Linked DNA regions of Homo sapiens: regions 1, 3, 4, 5 and 6 are each linked to region 2. Evidence: promoter capture Hi-C in 16 types of primary human blood cells and fetal thymus (Javierre and others, 2016). All regions are on one chromosome and are shown on one strand. The core of a region is centred on a gene start or on the middle of the fragment in contact, and the rest is flanking DNA. Distances in the headings are between cores, read along the strand shown.

Region 1 (3,527 bases), core at 448-2,947, 340 kb after region 2:
GTAGGAGAGTGATAAGTTGTGAAACTTCTTTATCTTTGTCTATCCACAGACATACATACATATAATAAATATACATACACATATATAACATATATAAATATATCAAAACATATCTCTGAATGTATTAATATATGTGTACTGTCATCAGATAAAATGCATTGTCAAGTAGGTCATGAGCAAAAGTTTGAAAGCCACTGATATAGACACACATAACCATATGTCAAAGTAAAATAACTGAATCAAAGTATTTAGAATGTGTTATGAATTCACCAAAGTTGGTAAAATTAAAACAGTTAAAAGAATAAGTGTTGGCAAGGTTATAAAACACTTGGAACTCTCATATAATGCTGCTAGACATGTAAAATGGGGTGTTCATTTTAGAAAACTTTTTGGTGCTATTTGCTAAAGGTGAACATATGCATGCCCTGTGTCCCAGCAATTGCATTCCTAGGTATATATGCAACAAAGATACTTAGGATGTTCAAGGCAGCATTACTCATTATGGCTAACAGCTGGAAGCAACCTACATGCCCGTCAACAGGAGCCAGGATAAAGAAATTGGGGTATATTTTCTCAGTGAGTTGAATCTCACAAACACAATGTTGCGTGTAAGCAGTTGGGCACAAAGGAGCACATACTGTGTGTGTGTGTGATTACGTTTACATCAAGTAAAACCCAGGCAAGCCTAATTATGCCATTAGAAGTTGGCAGTGATTGGAATGACATACAAGTGGGCATGCTCTGGTTGCCATTTGTGTTTTGTTTTTTGATCTGAGTGCCTTGTGTTCAGTTTTTGAAAACTAATCAAGCTAAACATTTACGATTTGTGTACTTTTTTTCTAAAGGATTATTAAACTTCGGCAAAACGTTTTAAAAGTGTCATGAGTTCAAGAGGAGTAATGATTCATTGAAAGAGTAAGACATTGGAAATGGCTCTTGGAGGAGACAAAATTGGAGGACAGGCAAGATTTTGACAGGAAGAGAGTTGGGGGGACCCTTTGCTAGAGGACCCCTGGGTAAGGCAGGCATGGATTATATATATGTATATATAGTTATCTGCATGATCAGATCTTATTCTTACTCACCTTGAGGCTCGAAATACTTGCTGGTGGGGCACATTGCAGGTCAGCACAGCCCAGCTTCTCAGGTACATGAGCCCAATGAGTTTGAGAACGTTGAACGCTGGGAGACATGGGGAGAAGAAGGCCCCCATCCTGGAACCATGAGGAAGGTCAGTTTGCATCTGTTCTCTTTCAGCCTATCTCCCAGGACTATGGAAGCCCCATGCAGGAACATGGTTCTGACACTTTGGGGATTATACCCTAAGCTTAAAGGACTGGAAAAGCCCCTGAAGTCCCGAGACCACAACCCTCCACCTTCTAAAGATAAGACAAGTCACTGAAGGTGGGTATTGATCCTATTTTAAAATATTATATTTGCAAAGGACAACTGTTTGTCTCTCTTTTCACAGCTGAGCAAAGGAAAATCCTCTGGGAAGGAGGCAAATAATGGATAACTACTATTTGGGGCCAGCTCCTGGTTTTGCTTGTCTATGATGAGGACTGTGCTAATAAATTACTGCCTTTCAGGTTTAATCAACATATTTTGGGCACCTAGTTTTGCTGGATATGGCATTAAGCATCCTCACACATTTCAGTTTGTTTACTCTTCTGCAATAGTGAGAGGAGAGGTAAATATCCAGTTGATAGACAACAAGGGCAGATATGGGGAAACCAAAGACATGTTGCTAAGGCTGACTCTATATCATCCAAACCTGGGAGATTTGGGGAATGAAAGAACTGAGCCCACAGACAAGAACCAGATCATCCCAGGGAAGCTGGGACTTATGGTCACCCTGAAAAGAAATGGCAGCTAGGCGACAAAACCCATGTCTTCAGACTTAAGTCTAAATCAGTTTATATTGGATACGTATTCAATCTAATACTTGTGGAATTTGGATTTAGTGGTATGAAAATAAACATGGACATAAGAGTATGTTTCCTAAGTAAAATGTTTCTAACAAGAAATGTTCAGTTATCATTATCTGTTGGATGTTAGGCAAGACACTAAGCTTCTCTGCACTTCAGTTTTCTCATCTTTAAAAAGGGGAAAATAATAGCAGTTACTTCATGGGTTTACTATAAGGATTAAATCAGTTACTACAGGTAGAAAAGTACTTGATATCTAGCACTATTAAATAAATGTCACCTATTATTTTTAATACTGTATTTGTAAAGATATTTTGCAAAATACAGTGGCTCTAAGAATTTGACAGGAGGCGTATTACTTTGTACCTCTCAATTGCCATGTATTTTACTGAATGATTATGAAGAGAATGTTTTCTGGATGTATGGAATATCCCAAGTTCTTGTTTTTTGTTCGTTTGTTTGCTTGTGTTTTAACAAATAGCACTATTCTGGTCCAACAGGTAAAATCAGCTCCTCAGTGTCTCCAAGGACAGGAATGCCATGGGCTGGGAGGCGCCATGGGTGAACAGACTTCCCTACTTCCTGCCTCCCCAAGGGTGGGGAGCAGTCTAGGGGATGGCTGTACTCCTGGGCCCAGTGTCTAAGTGAAAATTAGGAGGAAATGGAGGGAGGGTGGCGAGCGAGGACAGACTGGCCAAGGTCCCCCGCAGCCACTCCTGAAGTCCTCACGAGGGAGAAGCAGCCTCTCCTTCCAGCCTTCCCCAAGTCCTCCCTAAGAGTGTATTCTACTGGTTTCTGTGCAGATTTTTTTCGGCTGCGACCAATAGTAGCTTAAACATGGATTATTTTCTTTTTAATTTCTTCCTGCAAAATTCTTAGGAAACCATTAATAAAAGTAATATACATGTGAAATAATAATCTTGGAAACATCCCTTCTTAATGCTTATGTAACTGTGTTATGGTCGTGTCCCATCTAGACTAAGTAAATTAAAATCTTAGCCCAGATGAGATGTAAGCAAAGGCAAGAAGAAACTTTGATACCTACCAAATCATTCCTTGGTTGTAGACTAAATGTAGCACATTCTCAGCTATTTTGAATTCTCCATATTCAGGCTACAAGAGAAAATAAACTTGTGCATTAAACAAGTTCCAAAGTTCTTTGCATGAACCAATTAATTACAGACACCTATATAGACTTCTTTGCTCTTATGAACACTTAGAGATCAGTGCTTGTGGGGCCATCCCAGCAAATGGTAAATGTTAAGAAAGGGGTGGGGCTGGGCATTGTAGCTTATGCCTGTAATCCCAGCACTTCGGGAGGCTGAGCAGGAGGATCACTTGTAGTCAGGAGTTCGAGGTCAGCCTGGGCAACATAGTGAGACCTCATCTCTACAAGAAATTTTTAAAACTAGCTGGGCATGGTGGCATGTGCCTATAGTCCCAGCTACTCGGGAGGCTGAGGCAGGAGGATCGCTTGAGCAAGACCCTGTCTCAAAAAACACAAAAAACAGACAAAAAAAAAAAAAAGGAAGTAGAAGCTCAGCTTTCTGCACCCATCTCTTCCCACTTGTATTCTCTTTCCGTGTGTCCCCCTCAACT
Region 2 (3,685 bases), core at 881-3,380:
GCTATCAGTTTTAAAAATGAAACCAAACCTCACTGAATAGAGTGGACAGTCTGTGTGTAACACAACTCATTGTCGGGGTGGGTTTCCATCAACAACAAAACAGACTGCATATGTAGAAGAAAGGGAAAATGGGACCCCCAGGGGCACTACGTGGCTTTGGAAAAAAAATCTGATCTTAGAGCAGCCTCAAGAATAAACTAGGCACAGAACAGTCTGACTTCCCTCTCATAAGTTTTATTTATTTATTTATTTATTTTTTTTTGAGACGGAGTCTCCCTCTGTCGCCCAGGCTGCAGTGCAGTGGCGCGATCTCCGCTCACTGCAAGCTCCGCCTCCCGGGTTCATGCCATTCTCCTGCCTCAGCCTCCCGAGTAGCTGGGACTACAGGCGCCCGCCACCATGCCCGGCTAATTTTTTGCATTTTTAGTAGAGACGGGGTTTCACTGTGTTAGCCAGGATGGTCTTGATCTCCTGACCTCGTGATGCGCCTGCCTTGGCCTCCCAAAGTGCTGGGATTACAGGTGTGAGCCATCGCTTTCGGCCCCCTCTCATAAGTTTTTGGAGCTTAAGAAGGACTAAGGTGCAATCCCTGGGTCACCATGGAAAAACCTTGACTTATCCAGCTGTTTTTTTTTTCTCTTGTAGAAGAAAAAAAGGAATTAACCCTACATAATTACTTCCTATTTCAAGTCAGTTTTATTGACCTCGGTTTGCAAACTAAGTGGGCTCATCCGGATTCTAAAGATATTTAAGGATACTTTCAGTTATAAGTAGGATGACTATCCATCCAGGTTTGAACCTGCTGTTCATGGTTAATTTATTAATAGCATGTCTCACAGTTCATTCTCAGAAATGCTTGGATATGGCCGATAAATTGAAACGTCATCCTAGTTAAAAGTAACGTTTTTAACTGGCTGGAGAAAGGTGACTTGGGGTTCTAGGAAGGGACAGAGGAACAAACATTCTGTTGGCTCAGCACGCCCAGCCTGTGTTGGGCTGGGCACCTTAGAGGACCTGTTTCAGGACTGCGTGACTGGCGTTTTGCTGGGAGTAGCCCAGGTGTTTTAACCACTTCCTGAAGAACAAGGTTCGGTAAAAAGAGGCTGGGGCGTAGGCGTGGGTTCCTGTCCCTGCCATATGCTGTCTTCCTGATCTTCGGAAGTCACTTCAAGCACCTGATCATCAGTTTCCTTATCTGTAAAACTGGAGTAGTAATGTTTCCCTCCAAACGCCGTCGTATTTAATTCATTTAACAGCAGCCACTATTATTCCATTATACAGACGAATAAATAGACGTTATGAGAGGGCAAAGTGCGCTGATCAGGGCTCATAATAATTCTAACAGCTACTGTTTAGGAACCAAGTACTCAAGCAGCCTGTGCACAATCTCTAATTTCTAGAAGAGAAGACGGATACTTGGAAAGAGAACTTGAACAATGTCATGGAACTCATAAATGGCTTGAGAAAGGCTGATCCTAGGAAATCTGCTTCAGAACCCGCGCTCTCACTGCATAAGGCGTATTTCAAGGGAGGAACGGGCAGGCATCTAGCACCACTCTTCGGACTCCCCATCCAGTGCTCTTTTCCTCTTTTCGTTACACTGCACTGCTGGTCGGAAACCCATCGTGGAAGTGGATCAAACACAACAAAGGGCAGGGGGCGTTGGAAAACCGGGCGAAGTCGCGCAGACCGAGACGACCCACCGGCCCCAGCAAATCACCAGGGGCCGAAATCCAGTGTCCTCCTCCCTTCAGCCCAGAAGCCAGGTCACCTTTTAGACTTGCTCTCTTGGCGGGGAGGAAGCGTGGAGCCCCCTGGTCCGGCTAAGAGCTTACGTAAGGCCCGCGGGCGGCTGCGCCCCGGTCTCCCATGGGTGTGCGCAGAGCCCCCGGGCCGGAGCAGGCCTTCCCCTGTCCGCTCCCCCAGTCTCTCGGCCCAGGACCACGGGGGAGTTCAGGACCACCGGCCCCACGCCGGCAGCGTCCGCGTTGGGCGGCGGCGTCCCCCGCAGCCACCCAGCTTCCCGGGGGAGGAGCAGCGCATCGCGCAAGCATCCGGGAGCGGCGGAGGGGGCGGGAGGAAGGGCGAGAGGAGGAAGCGGGATTTAAACGAAAGGCGGTGACGCCACACAAAAGATTTCTATAGGCTCCAGGGAGGTTACGGCCGAGGCGGCGGCGGCGGCGAGCCCGGGGGCGAGGCGCGGACGGGAACAGGAAAAGCCTCCGGCAGCCCCTGCGGGCGGCGGCGCAGCCACGGCCGCGCTCCGAGGTGAAGCCGCGCGCGGAGAGGAAGCGGGTGTTTTCCCCTCTGCCTTTCGGCCCCCGCCCTTCCTTTCAGTTTCTGCCCGCTCGCTCGGAAGTTGGCGGTTGACAAAAATGGCAGGAGCCGGGGCCCGGGCCGGTTGCCGCAGCGCCGCGGGGACCTTCTGAGTTGGCCCGGTGGCAGGGAGACTCGTGCAGGGGCGTCCGATGCGCGGGGCCCGGGGCCTCGGGAGAGCTCAGCTGCTGCGGGCCCCAGACGAGGCGACAGGGATGGACTTGCGTAGACAGCCAGCGCCGGGCCGCCGGGCGCGCGGTCTGGGAGGGCGTGCCGCCGCGGCGCCGGGCCGCGCTCTGTGAACCGGCGAGGCGGGAAGGGGCCGCCGTGGTGCTCGGCACGCCCGGGCGTGTGGCGGGCGGGCGAGAGCTTGAGCGCGATCCGGGCGGCCGCTGTGCGCAATCAGTGCAGGCTCCCGCCCGACTCTGACTCGGCGCGGCCGCGACAGTGCCGGCCACACCCTCTGCCCCGCTGCCGCCGGCGCCGCTTCCCAAGAGCTGGAGGCAGGAGATGCGCCCGGGGCGGCCGCGCGTCCCAGAGAGCCAGCCCCGGCCGCCGTCGCGGGGAAGTGCCGCCTGGTGGGGTCACGGCGCCTGAAGCCCACGTGCGCCGCCGAGCCCGAGGTGGCCTCGAGCGCGGCGGCTGACAGCACAGCCCGCCTGAGCTGCCTCCCGCGCTCCTCCCCGAGGAAAGGATTTTGATTTCAAAGAAAGGAAGGAAGGAAGGACAACTCCCAGCTTCCCCGTCCCGCCCTCCCCGCTCCGAGGGCCGCGCCAGGCCATGCCCAAGAAGGCGGCGGCGGCGGCGAACCAGCAGAAGGGACTTTCCTGGCAGCCCGGCGACGAGGAGCGCGGACAGTGAGTTTGCTCTGCCCCGGTTCATGGTTCCTGCAAGCCCTCTAGGAGGCCGAAAGCTGCAGCCCCTCCCCTTGCCCCGAAGAGCCTTCCGCGTTCTCTCGCCCTCGGGCCCACCCCGCGCCGCCCGGGCTCCCGCCGCCGCAGCCCAGTGCCCTCTGCCCGCGGCGGTGGATGGCATGATGGTGCGGGGAAGGCACCGCGGCCTTGGCCAGCTGAGTCGCGACGGCCGCCGGGGCGGCGGCAGTGGCCGCGGCAGCGGCGGTGGTAGCGGGCTCCCCAGCGGCATGCCAGTGCCCCCCGGGCGCGATGGCTAGCGGCAGCGCCGGGAAGCCCACTGGCGAGGCGGCTTCTCCGGCTCCTGCGAGCGCCATCGGCGGGGCCAGCTCGCAGCCGCGGAAGAGGCTGGTATCCGTCTGCGACCACTGCAAGGGCAAGATGCAGCTGGTGGCTGACCTGCTGCTGCTGTCGAGCGAGGCGCGGCCCGTGCTCTTCGAGGGCCCCGCCTCCTCTGG
Region 3 (3,601 bases), core at 931-3,430, 400 kb after region 2:
GAGATAAAAATGATGAAACAATCCTATTTACACATGTTTTATAAATTTGAAATGTAATATTAATTATACTTTTTAAATTCCACTGCATTTTAATGATTATATCATAAAAGTTGTAAATGTGCTCCAAGAACTGCGTTGGTAAATTTGTTTCAGCTGTCATTCAGCTAACAGAGTCTTGTGAAAATTTTCCAATGTCACTTGTATTCTATTAGTTGTGATTCTTGTTCTTAAATTGCTGCGTGGAAACTAATCTATGGTGACAATAATCAGGGCTTGGGAAGGCTTGATTGTAAACAGGCTCATGACCCTGGGAACTTTTGGGGATGCAGCAATTATTTTCTTATATTGATTATGTTGGTAGTTCCATGGATGTAGCTTGCCAAAACTCATTAAACGATACACTTCGAATGAATGCATTTTATCATATGTAAGTGAGACCTTGGTAAAGTTGATTTTAAAATGTGAAGTGTTGGCTGGGCGCAGTGGCTCATGCCTGTAATCCCAGCACTTTGGGAGACGGGGGGTGGGGGCGGGGGTGGATCACGAGGTCAAGAGATCGAGACCATCCTGGACAACATGGTGAAACCTCGTCTCTACTAAAAAAAAAAAAAAAAAAAAAAAAAAAAAAAAAAAATTAGCTGGGCATGGTGGGTGGCCCAGTCCTAGCTACTGGGGAGGCTGAGGCAGGAGAATCACTTGAACCAGGGAGGCAGAGGTTGCAGTGAGCCAAGATCGCACCACTGCACTCTAGCCTGGGCAACAGAGAGAAACTCCGTCTCAAAACAAAACAAAACAAAACAAAACAAAAACAATAAGACGTGAAGTGTTATAATACCAATTTACAAGAAAGCATATCAAAAATGACTCATTGAAGCAGGTGGTTAGTGATTAAAAATTTAATGAATATACTACAAATCAGAAAAATACACTAGATGTAAATAATAAATAGAGCACCTGTGAAGACAGAGGTTGATCTGTATATGCTGAGAGAAATGAAGATACAAGAGAAATGATGTCACCAGCTGAAATGCTGTCACATTGTTGTCTTCATTCTTTTAGAAGAACTAAAGAAATAAAAGAATGAGCATCTGAAAATTAGATTGTATTGATAAACATTGATCCATTCACCCACCAGTCCCATTGTGTTCTGTTACAAAGTTTTTCAAAATGGCATTGTGAAATCTTTCAAGGGTTTGTGAAAAATAAGGTATAGCATCTCTTTGGTGAGCCAAATGAGTTTTTCTAAAATAAGCTTGGTAATTTTCACCCTAAAGTTGATGTATTTTAGTGTAAAAAATGAAGAGGTAGTGAAGTGTAATGGAGGGTGGGAGCCAGGCTCCTCACTGTTGGAGTGGGAAGTTACAGACGAGCAAAGGGAGGAGGCTAGAATAATCCATGGGTAATTGATTAGAGTGGGAGACATCTGTATAAACTCATATTTAGCTTAATATATAAATAGTACATGAATATTTATAGATGTATCTGTACATGGGTTATATAGATACGTGTATACATGTATTTCTCTATTTTGTCAGCTGAGAGGAACTAGAGGTAATAAATGACACCCAAGTAGTAGCAAGTAAAGTTAGAACTCAGATCCTGGTTTCTAATACCATTCTCTGATAGAAGGAATGAGGGCTCCTTGGAGCAATGGATGATTCTAAGGATGGAGGAGAAACATCTTGCAATGCTAGTAATAAGGAAATGCACAGAAAAACTGACACTGATGGGCCTATGCCAAGGATACAGGAACTGACAGAAAGCTCCCAATGGCCAAAGGCAGAACAAGCTGTGCAACAAAATAAACAAAGTGGTACTGAATTATAACCCAATATATAAAATAAATATTGATGGGTCTACACTGATATAAACAAAATGACTGCATAAATAAATAAATGGAGAAGAATAGCCAAATCTCCAGTGCAGAAGAATTTCAAATAATTTATGCAGATACTGTGAGGGTTAATTTTGTGTGCTAACTTGGAGGATGTTTTCAGATGTGATTAGCATTTAAATGGGTGCACTTTGAGTAAAGCAGATTGTCCTCCATTATATGGGTGGGTCTCATCCAATTAGTCGAACCATGAATCAAACCAAAAGACTGCCCTCCCCAAGCAGGAAGGAATTCTTCAGTGGACTGCCTTTGGACTTCATCTATATTCTTGGCTTACCTGAGTCTTGAGCCTGACAACCCACACTGCAGATTTTTGACTTCCTGGCCTCCAGAATTGCATGAGCCAATTCCTTATAATAAATCCTTCTCTCCACATATACACACACATACATCCTATTGGTTCCGATTCTCTATAGAACCCTGACTAATACAGATAATTTGCATTCAAGAAAAGTGAGCATGATTCGCATTCCTTACGTGTGGGCTGCATATACTGACTTCCTTCCAAAGAGTACAGTGTGGAAAATAGAGGGAGAAGAGTAACTTTACAGTGGAGAAGACTGGCAAACTACCTCAGCCAGGTGACCAAGGTCAACATCAACAATGACCAGTCATGTTGATGGTATGTATCCTTGATATCATGAAAATGGCACTGTACCTGTGATCCTCCTCTCCTACCCCATAATCCCAGTCTAATGAGAAAAACATTAGACAAATACAAATTGATGAATATTCTACAAAAATACCTGACCAACACTCCTCAAAAGTGTCAAGGTAATCAAAACCGAGGAAACTCAGAGACTTTCAAGGCCAAGAGGAGTCGAAGGAAACAGGACAATTAAATGTAGTATGGTATCCTGAATAAGATCTTGGGAGAGAAAAAGGACATTAGGTATAAACTAAAGCAATCTAAATGAAGTATGGACTTTGGTTAATGACAATGTATCTATATTGGTTCATTAATTGTGACAAATATACCATATTAATATAAGATGTTACTAACAGAGGAAACTGTGTGGGGTACACAGGATCTCTCTGTACTAGTTCCTTAATTTTTCTGTAAATGTAAATCTACTCCAAAATAAAAAGTTTGTTTAAAAAAAAAGAAAAAGGAGGAGGAGGAGGATGAAAAGATGGAAAAAATAAACTAGGGAGGCACCTTTTAGAGTTCTACTTCTCACAGCAAAAAGAACTACAAGTTATTCCACTACCAAGAAGCTTGCAGGGTTAGCCACAAAACCAATGATAAGTATTGTACCTGGGAAAATAATCAATTAATCTTTGCAATTCTAGTCAGATCATACTGTTGGACACCACATCATAGCAATGGCACATGATAGATTACAACAAATGCTATTGTTTAAAAATTATCCAAAATGTAGAAATAAAGCAAAAGAAGATTGCTCGTGCTTTCAATATCATATACCAGACCAGCATCTATCAGGCCCATCAAGCATTATTTCATTTTTTAAAAGATGGACTCTTGTTGATTAACTACTTTCTGTTAATTAAAGCCAAGACTCTGAAGTCACGTGTTAACTTGTAGATTTTTGTCTAATGGAGATGCAAAACATTAACTAGTTATATCTCTGACTTAGCAAATTTATTTTGGTATTCCTTTCCTAATAGACTGTGTAATCTTTTTTTTCTCTAATTTTTCTTTCAATCATTCTGTGCACGTTGCTGGTTTCCTCATCAATAAATCAA
Region 4 (3,424 bases), core at 602-3,101, 380 kb after region 2:
GGGTGTGGCTGTGGCTGTGGCTGTCTGGCTTCCCTTCTATTGATACCTCTGGCAGCCTTTGAGGGATGAGAGGGCGTGGGGGTTTCCACTGCAAACATGAGGGAGTAGGTTGAGTGCTTCGTTGTTGAGGTGAGCTTCCCTGATGGGGTTGAACCCTGTATATCAGAAAGAAGCCCAACCACCCTTTTGCTATTTCATAGTGAAGCATTGCATTGAATCTCCTGGAGCAGACATAAATGAATGTTGTGGCTCTGGAGTGGTAAAAGAGATTGCAAACAAACAGTCTTCATATCTCCTGGGGGTGCTTTTTACTGAGCTAACATAGCTAAGCTGGAAATGTGTTTTCTAGTATTCCATTCTCTGTGTGTTGCTGGCCACAAAGAGACTTGTGTGTCTAAGTCTTGGAAGATGTAAGAGAAGGAGCTGCCATTTTGTGTGCTCTGAGGTGGGTAAAGGGCACCAGATGCTGTGGCAGCTCACACAGGTCTGTCATCTGCTAGCCTTGCCTTGCGGGTGGGGCCATATCCTGAGCCTCGCACAACCTCAGCTCCCACTGGATCTCTTCCTTCAGCTCCTCTGAGCCCTGGGCCAGATGTGTGTACAGCTCCATGGTGAAAGCCACCAACTTTTCCAGTAGGTCTTCTGCATCTTTTGGGTGGGAGGTGGTGAGAAAGAGAGGTGGGCTCTATTTCATCCTTTTGAGGGGAAATGGGAAAATACCTCTTGTCCTCTACTTCCTCAATTTCACACCCAACTCTCCTTCCTAACTCCCAGTCCAGGCGATATAGAACAAATTCAGCCCAGTATCAGATACTACCTTTACAGAGATTTCACAACCAGTCTCACCATTGTGCAGATCCTAATCCCTGTTATAAATTCTATATATTGGTTCTGTTTCTCCAATTGAACCCTGACTGAAAAAGCTCTTCATGGCTACTGTTGCCTGCGAATTTTATCTCTTGAATTAGTAGATGGTTATACTGCTCTGCCAGGACTGTTTGACTTCCTGAACAGAAAGCGTAAATGGTAAAGTGTGGATTGTGATTAAATCATTGATGACCTACTACAGGTTGGTAGTTTGTTCTGTCTGAATTGCATCTTAAAGAAGCTCATTGAAATGTCTTATATGGTGACATACTTCCTTTTCTCCAGTGTTATTTAATGTTCTCTTATTTTTATAGCCCTTGACCTTAGCCTTTTATTTAAAGCTACTGAGGGGCTTAGATTACTGTTGCCATTTTTCTTGGGATTATGCTAATCCAGGTTTTCATTTTACTATGTCAATCTCCACTTACATTTTTTTTAACTCTGCTGGTTTCCTTTATAAAGTCACTATCTCTTCTTCTTCTCTTAATTTGCGTCCCTTATTTCAGAGACAATGATTTCATTTTATTTCACTGAGTGAGAGAAGCAAATGTCTAAAATTTACATTTTGCTTTCTGTAGAAAGCTCCTTTCTAAAATCTGCGTTTTTCTTTACCTCTGGCATGCTGCATTCATTTCCTTTTTTATGCTGCAGAATTTCTGTGTTTGCGCCCCCATCCTGTGAGTGAGTGTTCTCTGGCTTCCCTCCCTGTTCCCAGGAATGCTATGGGACTTCATCTTTCATATGCTTACTGGTGAAGGCTGCTGCATGATGACTTTGTAGGCTGAGGGAGTGGAGAAAAAGGTGAGGCTGGGAGCACTCTAAAAAGAAGAATTTGGTGTTTGTTCTGTTGACTCCTTCTTTCTTATACAGGAGGGCAGTTCTCTTCTTGTATTCCTTTGTTTTTGGTGTGTTGTTTGTGTGTTTGTTTTTTGTTTATTTTGACACAAAGTCTTGCTCTGTCGCCCAGGCTGGAGTGCAGTGGTGCGATCTTGGCTCACTGCAACCGCCTCCTCCCGGGTTGAAGCGATTCTCCCACCTCAGCCTCCAGAGTAGCTGGGATTACAGGTGTGCACCATAACACCCGGCTAATTTTGTATTTTTAGTAGAGCCGGATTTTCACCATGTTGGCCAGACTGGTCTCAAACTCCTGGCCTTAAGTGATCTGCCCATCTCGGCCTCCCAAAGTGCTGGGATTACAGGCGTGAGCGACCGTGCCCGGCCACTTCTTGTATTCCTTTGTTCAGCATGGCCTCTTCCTCAGGTCTTCGATGTGGCTTAGTGTCCCTCTCAAGAACTTTTCCACAACAGGGACAGGATCTCACCACAGCAGAGAGAATCAGAATCAGTGAAAAACACCCATGCCTGGAGACTTCTTGTTTAGAACGGCCACTCTTGTTTTGATCCTTCACATCCCCTCCAATCTAATTCTGAATTTTTTTTCTTTACTGTGGCAAAATACACATAACATAAACTTACATGTTACCGTTTTTAAGTGTCCAGTTCAGTGGCATTAAGAACATGCACATTGTTTGGCAATCATCACGAGTATTCATATTCAGGACTTTATTCATCTTCCTCAACAGAAACCCCCCATACCCACTAAACAACAAGCCCTCATTTTCCCCTGCCCCACCAGCCCCTGACAACCGCCATTCTTCTTTCTGTCTCTAGGAAGCTGATTACTCTAGGTACCTATGAGGGTGGAGTCATACAGTATTTGTTTTTGTGACTGGCTGATTTCACTCAGCGTAATGTCTTCGAGGTCCATTCATGTTGTGGTATGTGTCAGAAATTCCTTCTTTTTTAAGGCTGAATAATATCTCACTGTAGGCATATTCCACATTTTGTTTATCATTTAAATGTTTTTAAGCTATAGCAAGAAAGGGTGTGGAACAAGAAACGGTCCCTATCTCTCCCACCATCTTCATGTCTAGCCCATGCACCTCTGAAATAGTAGTGTTGGTAGGACTCTAGATACTTCCTATTAAATGGGCTACAAATTCCCTGTAGATGAGGGTTCTGACTTAGGGAACTTTCTTTAATCTCCTTCCATTTTACCAAGTCTCCCGGAAACTTCTTGAAGCATGATATAGTTTGGCTGGGTCCCCATCCAAATCTCATCTTGAATTGTAGCTCCCATAATTCCCACATGTTGTAGGAGGGACCTTTTGGGAGATAATGGAATCCTGGGGGCAGTTTTCCCCATACTGTTCTTGTGGTAGTGAATAAGTCTCATGAGATCTGATGGTTTTATAAGGGGAAACCCCTTTCACTTGGCTCTCTTTCTCTCTTGTCTGCCGCCACGTAAAATGTGACTTTTGCCTTCCACCATGATTGTGAGGCCTCCCCAGTCATGTGGAACTGTCAGTCCATTAAACCTCTTTTTCTTTTCTTTTTTTCTTTTTCTTTTTTTTTTAGATGGAGTTTGGCTCTTGTTGCCCAGGCTGGAGTGCAGTGGTGCGGTCTTGGCTCACTGCAACCTCCACCTCCCGGGTTCAAGCTATTCTTCTGCCTCAGCCTCTCAAGTAGCTGGGATTACAGGTGCCTGCCACCACAC
Region 5 (3,814 bases), core at 1,282-3,781, 320 kb after region 2:
AAAAAAAAAAAAATTAGTCTCATGATTACATGAAATATATGATTAAAAAAACTTCTATTTCTATGCATATTTATGATGCAAGATGATGACTTCCAAGAATAAACATGTATTGTATTAGGATAAAATTCAGAGGGCTATGTGGAATGGAAATTTGAGTTCCAGGAAAACAGCTATATACCATTTCTGATGATTTAAAAAACCTTGTTCATGTATTTTAAGTAAAAATTTATATATTATTTAGACACATCTAAAAGAATGATGTCATTGCTTTGTTCAAAACTGAGATTTACATGTCAAAAATGACATGCTTTGCAACTTATGAAAATTTAGTTGTAAACTAAATGTTATTAATAGACATCAACTGGATGTGTGAGGATGATGCATAATTTCTCAAAAATCTGTTGGATGCATGTAAGCAAAAAGCGTGAAGACCCTCATACCAGAGGGTAACTGGGGTCATGCAGGTACGTGGAGCTGCTACTGGCCCAGGCTTCAGGGAAGTGGGTGCCAGGGGCTGAGGATCCTGTGTTGCCTAGTGCAGCAGCCCCACACAAGGAACAGGTATGCTCCCCGCAGAGACTCTGTTTGGGGCTTCTCTCCCTCTCTGAGTCATGAGGTTTCCCACCGGGAAACTGGGCTGAGGCAGGCCTCCAATGCTGCAAGCAGTGGGCAGCCTGTGCTTGCAGGACACACCCCCTTAACAAAAGGTATCACGGACCCCTTCCAGAAGAAATGGGAGGGGGTTACTATAGCCTGGCCCAGACACTATCTAGAGATAACATGCTTGGAAAGACTTACGTCAGTGATGCTTTGGATAATTTCAAAACCGGTCACATTCTCATCCCACTTCACTCGTAGGCCTCCAACAGCTGGCTTCACACAGTCCCACACCTCCTCTAGTGTCCCATATACAATGCCTTCTCCTCGGTACCTGGAGCACGAAAAGGAATTTGACCCCAACGCATCAATCAAACTTGTTATCTTGAGATTGTATCTAAGGACTAGAAGGTGGACCATGCCATGTCTGTCACTACTCTTTAGGACAGACTTGCAGAGAAGGGGCTGAAAGTCACTAGCCCCGCCTCCCTTCAGGCCTGCAGAAATGGACAGTAAGCTTTCACAAGAATACAGTTTGCTGGAAATGATTTCATTAAAAACAGTAAGGCTTTTCTGGAGGACAAGTGATCACAGGTTATAGGGTTGATTTGAATATTTTAGGAGGCAGGCCCATAAAGATACCAGGAAGGGTGCGGCACCTCTGGTAATCTTTGAACGAGGCATGCACTTACAGGTTCCCTGGAAACTCCACAGATGGCCTCCAGGAAACTGAAACTCCATTCTGTCAAAAGGCACAGAACCACAGAATTTTAGAGCTAGAAGGGCTCTGGTCACCTGGCTTAATCCCCTGTTCTACAGAAGAGGGGTAAGAGGCCTCAAGAGATACGACTCTCCAAGGCTGTGCAACCCATACGTGGAAAAGCTGGGACTAGTCTTGGGCAAAGCTGTCCCCACAGCAGAATGTGATGAAGAAAAAGATCTTAACTGGCTGACTCCAAGAGCCGTGGGTGGTTTTTAAAATTATCTTAAAAGCCACCAGGCATTCTGTTTCCTTGAGCAACCCAGGGCTACTTAATGAAAAGTCAGAAGGGTCAAGCAAAACTACTCCCATGCTACCCTCTGGCAACGACAAAGAGAGGGGTTCATGCTGTAATGAAAAGTCAGAAGGGTCAAGCAAAACTACTCCCATGCTACCCTCTGGCAACGACAAAGAGAGGGGTTCATGCTGTAATGAAAAGTCAGAAGGGTCAAGCAAAACTACTCCCATGTTACCCTCTGGCAACGACAAAGAGAGGGGTTCATGCTGTAATGAAAAGTCAGAAGGGTCAAGCAAAACTACTCCCATGCTACCCTCTGGCAACGACAAAGAGAGGGGTTCATGCTGTAATGAACACAGAAGAAAACCTTAGTATGCATCAGATGCTGGATCAGACTTTACTGGATTTAAACAACATGTAAAAACCTCCTTAGCTGCGACCACATTCTTTCATTTTGTTTTGTTTTTAAACACCTGCTTACCCCTTAAATGCAATTTATTTACTTTTACCACTGTCACAGAAACATCCAGTCCTAAACAGCATTCAACAGCCAGGTGACCTTGGGCAAGTCACTGAGTGAAAGGAACAGATACTTACCACCTGAAGTCATTGTGAGCATAACAGGCCCAATCTTTTTTTTAAAGAAGAAAACAATCCCCATTGGAATCCCTCTCAATCGGGTCCAGGGGATTGGGGAGCAGAAAACAACGGGGAGAGGAGGCGCTTGGGGGCTTCTGGGGACCCGGGCTCCACGAAGCCGTCTCCGCGACCCCTTCCCGCCCAGCTCCTCACTCACGCCTTCCCGGCAAATCTTCCAGCCTGCTGTGTCCCGCCGGTACTGGAGCATCTTCTCGGCCACAGCCTCGCTCATCTGGGCTGCCAGCGCCGGGTCCATTGCGTCGGGAGCTGCGCTTAGCTGCGGGGTCGCGGGTGTTATGAGCGGCGGCGCTGGATCCCGGGTGCCTGGAGGCTGGAGCTCTGGGAGGAGCTCGTAGCCCCGCCTCTTTCCGCGCCCCCGCTCCCGAATTGGTCCAGGCCCTCAGACGGATCCCGCCTCCCGGAGATTGGCAGGACAAGGAGACCGCGGGGCCAGGCTCTCCAGTTAGCGTCAGCGCCTGGGCGGGTCCCGGACGCCTTGGGCGGGCCGGGTAAGGTCCAGCCGTATCCGCCTCCTTCATGTCCCGCTGTGGGAGGGGCTCTGGAGCGCCGGGACTGTGAGATGGCCAATGACGGTCTGACCCGTTGGGCCGGGCCAGGTCGCGGACAACGTCGACCGTTTGTTTAAGAAGCGTGGACTCTTGTCCTGAGTGCACCGAGGCTTTCAGCCTGCGGGACAGTGGTGCGATTTGCATTAGAGGTAATATGCTAGGGCGGCTGCTGCAGGGTGGGAGAGGAAATGCGCGTGGAGACTGGGCGCGTGCAATGGTGGGAGAGGTGTGTGGCAGGGGTGCGGGGAGTGGGGGTGAAGAGAAGAGGACCCATCGTAGAGTGTTTAGGAGATGGAAGGTGAAGGTCTCTGCCCCCGATTGTGGATGTTCAGAAGGAGAAAGCATCATGACTCCCAGCCTTGGCCACCTGGCAGCTTACCTGAGATGGAGAAGAGATAGGGTGAGTTCAGTTCTGGGCATATTTAGTTGGAGGTGCCTGAAGGGCCTTTAGTGCAGGTGTCCAGGAGTCAATGCAATGCGCTGACATCTGCGAGAGGCCCGGCTTTATTAGAGATATGGGAGTTCTCTGCTTCCAGCTGCCCTGGAGCTGCGGGGAGTGAGCCAGGGTCGCATCTTCACAGCGTGAATGGCAAGGACAGCCTCGGTTTCCCCTCTTCTGCGCTATCACCAACTAAATATTTGAAAAGGTTAATACTGAGGTCTATTTCTTATCTTTCTTTTTTATGTACTTATTGTTTCCTTTAAACTTTCGATATAAATGTTTGGAAGAGTAGTGTAAACAAATTGACAACTTGAAAGACCTTTTTGGAAGATGTGAAGGGCAGCCAGGCTGTGAAGAAGACCTGGATGGGGAATTAGGGAGCTCAAGATCTAAACCCAGTTTCACTCATTATTCTTTGAGCTTCAGTTTACTCCAAGGTGAAATGGGATACATCATAAATGTTCCTGGCGGGGTCCGGTGGCTCACGCCTGTAATCCCAGCACTTTGGGAGGCTGAGGCAGGAGATCACTTGAACCTAGGAGTTCGAGACCAGCCTGAGCAGCATGGCG
Region 6 (3,826 bases), core at 932-3,431, 290 kb after region 2:
CTGCACAGGCTAATTTTTGTATTTTTAGTAGCGATGGGCTTTCACCATGTTGGTCAGCCTGGTCTCGAACTCCTGACCTCAAGTGATCTGCCTGCCTCAGCCTCCCAGAGTGCTGGGATTAGAAGCATGAGCTACCATGCCCAGCCTCTTTTCTTTTTGTTTATAGTAGCCATCCTAATGTCCTAATGTGTGTGAGGTGGTAACTCAGTGTGGTTGTGATTTGCATTTACCTAATCATTAGTGATGTTGAGCATTTTTTCATTTGCTTTTTGGCTGTTTGTATATCTTCTTTGAAGAAATGTCTATTCAGGTTCTGTGCCCAGTTTTTAATCAGGTTGTTTTGTTGTTGTTGTTGTTGCTGAGTTGTAGGAGTTCTTTATATAATCTGCAACTCAACTATTTATCTGAAATATGATTTGCGAATATTTTCTCCAATTCTATGAGTTGCCTTTTCAATCTGTTGATGATGTCCTTTTGATGCACAGAAGTTTTTGATTTTCACATAGTCCAATTTATCTATTTTTTTGTTTCCTGTACTTTTGATGTCAAATAATTTATTTTTAAAAAACCTGTCCTCATTTTGAAGTGGGTTTTATTATTGTTATTATTTTACAGAAGGAAGAAATGGAGGCTCAGGAGGTTAAGTAACTTGTCTAGGTGTTCACACCTAGACAGTAGAGGAACCGGGACTAGAACACAAGCCTTTTTGACTCTAGGACTCATACTCTTAACTATTACTCCAAAGTGATAATAAACTGTGAGTCACAGCTCAGACAGTATAATAGTGATTGTGATTATTACGATATTGTTGATAATGATGATGTCATGACAGCATTGCCAAGAACGGACTAGCTCATAGAGATAACCTATGAAGTGGTAACTTTGCCTAGAATTTTCCAGCAAGTAGTGGGGAGAAGGTTGGAGAGTTGAGGGGGCCTCCTTGGGAACCCCTGCATTGATAGACTTTGGACTTTATCTAGAAGATACTGAGGAACCATTGATTCCCGGGGTATTTCTGGAAATGGAATTCATCAGCTATTTGCAGAGTGGGTTGAAATAAAATAATTTAGAATCCAGTGGCCCAGCTTTGGAGCTGGTACGGGGCTGGGAGCCTGATGCAGGAGCTTCTACTGTTTGTTTGAGGAGATGACTGATATTTTCTAGGTCTCTGAACAGCAACTCAAAGAAGCTGTGGCCCAGGCTGTGGAAAACACCAAGTTTGGAAAGGAGAGGCATCAGTGGAGTCTGGAAGGTAAGACAAATGGTGAACTTTGATGTAAAATATCTTTGCCTTCTTAGAAAGCTTAGGATTTATCCATTAACTCATCCTCTATCCAAGGAATAGTAACAGCATTTACCATAGACCAGCATAGTATGTAGACAAAGGCTGAAAACTAGCAGCCCACCAGCTAAATTTAGCTTATATTTTTGCTTTGTTTGGAAGACACAAGATTTTAAAAGCATCTGAATTTAAATTGCTACAAATGTGCCAGGCTCTCTCCAGCTCCCGGTGGTCTCCACCGTTCCCTTTATCCTGTACCAAGTTGCCATTCACACAATAGCCCCTGCAGGCACTTGAGTTTGCAGCCCCTAGTTTATAATAATAGAATATTAGAAAAACTAACATTTGGGAATATAATTCTGACATTTATTTAATTCTTATAATTCTTATAATAAATCAGAGACTATGCTAATTCATGCATTCACACATAATTTTTATGCAAATTTTATAAGAAAAAGTGAGGCCCTCAGAGACTCTCTTACTCAAAGTCATACCACTAGAGCACAGAGGCTCTGGAATGGAGATCCAGCTGGCTTGACTCCCATGCCTAGCCATTGGGCATTAATCACGTCTACCATGGAACATCCTTATGAAAGAACAACATGCAACCATTGGCACTGATATTGACAAGAAATTAAATGATCTGGGGAAATGTTCAGAGAAAAGAACAGAACACAATTTATTTCAGCTCTGGTTTATTATTTCTACCCACCCAACATGCATATATGCTCGGGAAAGCATGACAGAGAAACTCACCAAAATTTTGACAGTAGTTATTTCTGGCTGATAGGAACACAGGTGAAGTGAATTTTTACTTTCATTCCTTCCTCCTTGTGGCTGAGTTTTCTCTAAGGAGGATGCATTATTTCATGATCAGGAAAAAAAAAAAGAAAACTTTTTATTTAAAGAGAAAGTGAGTTAGGAGCTTGGCTGGCCTTGGTTCTCTCTCATGGGGCTCCTCTGGCTTTCTTGGTCTCTCAGAATGAGCTGGAATTTGAGCAAGAGACTAGATTTCAATCCTCTCCCACCCCTTCAAGCTGTGATTTTAGGAAAGGGGCACCCTTGACAGCTTACCACTAGAGAGAAGGGCCTCTCAAGGATGTGTGGGTAGCCCTAGTGCTGGAAACTAGGGTAGGGGGTACTGAGAACCAGGAAGGGCTAATGGGGAGGGAGGGAGGAAGGTGCAGTGGCTAAGAAATAGCGGCTTTCTGCCCTCACCTCACCCTCAACTGGAAAGAAATAGTGACTTCTTCGTGTAAGATTCAAAGTGCCTTGACAGGTAGTTTCTCTGTCTTTGTTATTGAGCCTCAAAATAACCCCAGTGACTTTAAAATTATCATCCTCATTTTACAGATGCAGAAATGGAGTTGGGTCCCCCAGGAAGCTGACTCTGAGATGGAGTTTGGTCTGCAGGCAGTGTCCTGGGGTTCACTACCTGTGGCAGGGAGGGGAGCAGGCAGGGTAGACAGAGGGAGGACGGAGCTGAGGTGCACACCCAACAGCTTCAGCCAAGCCCTGGAGCTCTGCAGCCAAAGTCCCCATTAGAGTTGTCCTATGTTGGCCAACATAGCTGGGCCTCTGTAACCCTATCTCCAGCAGTCCCTGGAGATGGGCTGCCCCATTGGACAAGGCAGCTGTCTGCAGCTGTGGCAGCCCCTGGAGGGACCCACAGCTGAAAGTAGTCTGCCAGCAGCACTCCCCACAGCTGGGACACCAAGCCCTTCCTCGATGGGTGATCTGGGTGGCATATCTCCATATACATCAGTCATAGGCTCAGAAAGCTTGAATGATTTTCCCAACCCAAAGTCATACAGCTCGCCAGGGACCAACACCAAGACTGCCATACTCCAGATCCACAGTGACTTCAGATAAGAAGCAGATGGCCGATGTGCAGTGTGCTGCCCGTGGCAGTCACAGGTGAGGCCAGGGGGTATTTCTGTTTTCTGAAGCTCAGCTGTGAAGATTCTCTTGTGCTTCCCACACAGGTGTCAAAAGGCTGGAAAGCAGTTGGCACGGGCGGCCCACCTTGGAGAAGGAACGAGAGAAGAACTCAGCACCCCCGCATCGCAGGGCTCAGAAGGTCATGATCCGCTCCAGCAGTGACAGCAGCTACATGTCTGGGTCCCCAGGGGGAAGTCCTGGGAGTGGCAGTGCTGAGAAGCCGTCCTCTGACGTGGACATCAGCACACACAGCCCCAGCTTGCCTCTGGCACGGGAGCCAGTGGTGCTTTCTATAGCATCCTCCAGGCTGCCCCAGGAGAGCCCACCCCTCCCAGAGAGCCGGGACAGCCACCCGCCGCTGAGACTGAAGAAATCCTTTGAGATTTTGGTGAGAAAGCCTATGTCCTCCAAGCCCAAGCCTCCACCCAGAAAATACTTTAAAAGTGACAGTGACCCTCAGAAGAGTCTGGAAGAGAGAGAGAACTCCTCATGCTCTTCTGGGCACACCCCACCCACCTGTGGCCAGGTAAGAGGATGGGTCCACAGGTTGAGTGTTTCCAGGACCAGACTCAAATCTTGAGCATGGGCAAATTAGCAAGTTAG

Evidence for each region. Contacts are between HindIII fragments. The CHiCAGO score rates a contact against its expected background, and 5 or more counts as called.
Region 1: a contact is called between a fragment that was not itself captured here and the fragment with the promoter of TLNRD1 in region 2, in 2 of 17 cell types (neutrophils and total CD8 T cells). The highest score is 8.0, in neutrophils.
Region 3: a contact is called between a fragment that was not itself captured here and the fragment with the promoter of TLNRD1 in region 2, in 3 of 17 cell types (neutrophils, naive CD8 T cells and total B cells). The highest score is 10.3, in neutrophils.
Region 4: a fragment that was not itself captured here is called in contact with the fragment with the promoter of TLNRD1 in region 2 in 1 of 17 cell types (neutrophils); the score reaches 6.1 in neutrophils.
Region 5: a contact is called between the fragment with the promoter of STARD5 here and the fragment with the promoter of TLNRD1 in region 2, in 7 of 17 cell types (neutrophils, naive CD4 T cells, activated CD4 T cells and 4 more). The highest score is 13.8, in neutrophils.
Region 6: a contact is called between a fragment that was not itself captured here and the fragment with the promoter of TLNRD1 in region 2, in 8 of 17 cell types (total CD8 T cells, total CD4 T cells, activated CD4 T cells and 5 more). The highest score is 7.5, in total CD8 T cells.

What each region holds. Positions count from the first base shown.
Region 1 is chr15:81,340,305-81,343,831 of GRCh38, forward strand. TMC3 (transmembrane channel like 3) reads right to left here. Exons shown (of 22, transcript NM_001080532.3): 15 at 2,974-3,041; 16 at 1,086-1,214. TMC3-AS1 (TMC3 antisense RNA 1) reads left to right here. Exons shown (of 7, transcript NR_120365.1): 3 at 1,258-1,404. Among named protein-coding and RNA genes, the nearest start is that of TMC3-AS1, 18 kb to the left of the region's middle. The HindIII fragment of the contact is 744 bases long and covers 1,326-2,069 here.
Region 2 is chr15:80,998,793-81,002,477 of GRCh38, forward strand. It overlaps TLNRD1 (talin rod domain containing 1), which reads left to right and starts at 2,131. Exons shown (of 1, transcript NM_022566.3): 1 at 2,131-3,685. The coding sequence starts at 3,480. It overlaps LOC128071545, which reads left to right and starts at 3,350. Exons shown (of 1, transcript NM_001414893.1): 1 at 3,350-3,487. The coding sequence starts at 3,350. The coding sequence ends at 3,487. RefSeq lists silencers at 1,759-2,448, 2,489-2,948, 3,299-3,428. The HindIII fragment of the contact is 6,287 bases long and covers 1-3,685 here.
Region 3 is chr15:81,403,161-81,406,761 of GRCh38, forward strand. The region is part of intron 6 of TMC3-AS1 (TMC3 antisense RNA 1); the gene reads left to right. Among named protein-coding and RNA genes, the nearest start is that of TMC3, 31 kb to the left of the region's middle. The HindIII fragment of the contact is 1,860 bases long and covers 1,251-3,110 here.
Region 4 is chr15:81,380,349-81,383,772 of GRCh38, forward strand. The region is part of intron 6 of TMC3-AS1 (TMC3 antisense RNA 1); the gene reads left to right. Among named protein-coding and RNA genes, the nearest start is that of TMC3, 7.8 kb to the left of the region's middle. The HindIII fragment of the contact is 5,991 bases long and covers 1-3,424 here.
Region 5 is chr15:81,321,610-81,325,423 of GRCh38, forward strand. It overlaps STARD5 (StAR related lipid transfer domain containing 5), which reads right to left and starts at 2,532. Exons shown (of 6, transcript NM_181900.3): 1 at 2,392-2,532; 2 at 1,290-1,339; 3 at 799-931. The coding sequence starts at 2,490. TMC3-AS1 (TMC3 antisense RNA 1) reads left to right here and starts at 2,724. Exons shown (of 7, transcript NR_120365.1): 1 at 2,724-2,952. RefSeq lists a silencer at 3,024-3,073. The HindIII fragment of the contact is 9,334 bases long and covers 1,113-3,814 here.
Region 6 is chr15:81,289,289-81,293,114 of GRCh38, forward strand. It overlaps IL16 (interleukin 16), which reads left to right. Exons shown (of 19, transcript NM_172217.5): 11 at 1,165-1,252; 12 at 3,268-3,749. Among named protein-coding and RNA genes, the nearest start is that of STARD5, 33 kb to the right of the region's middle. RefSeq lists an enhancer at 3,224-3,353. The HindIII fragment of the contact is 1,760 bases long and covers 1,302-3,061 here.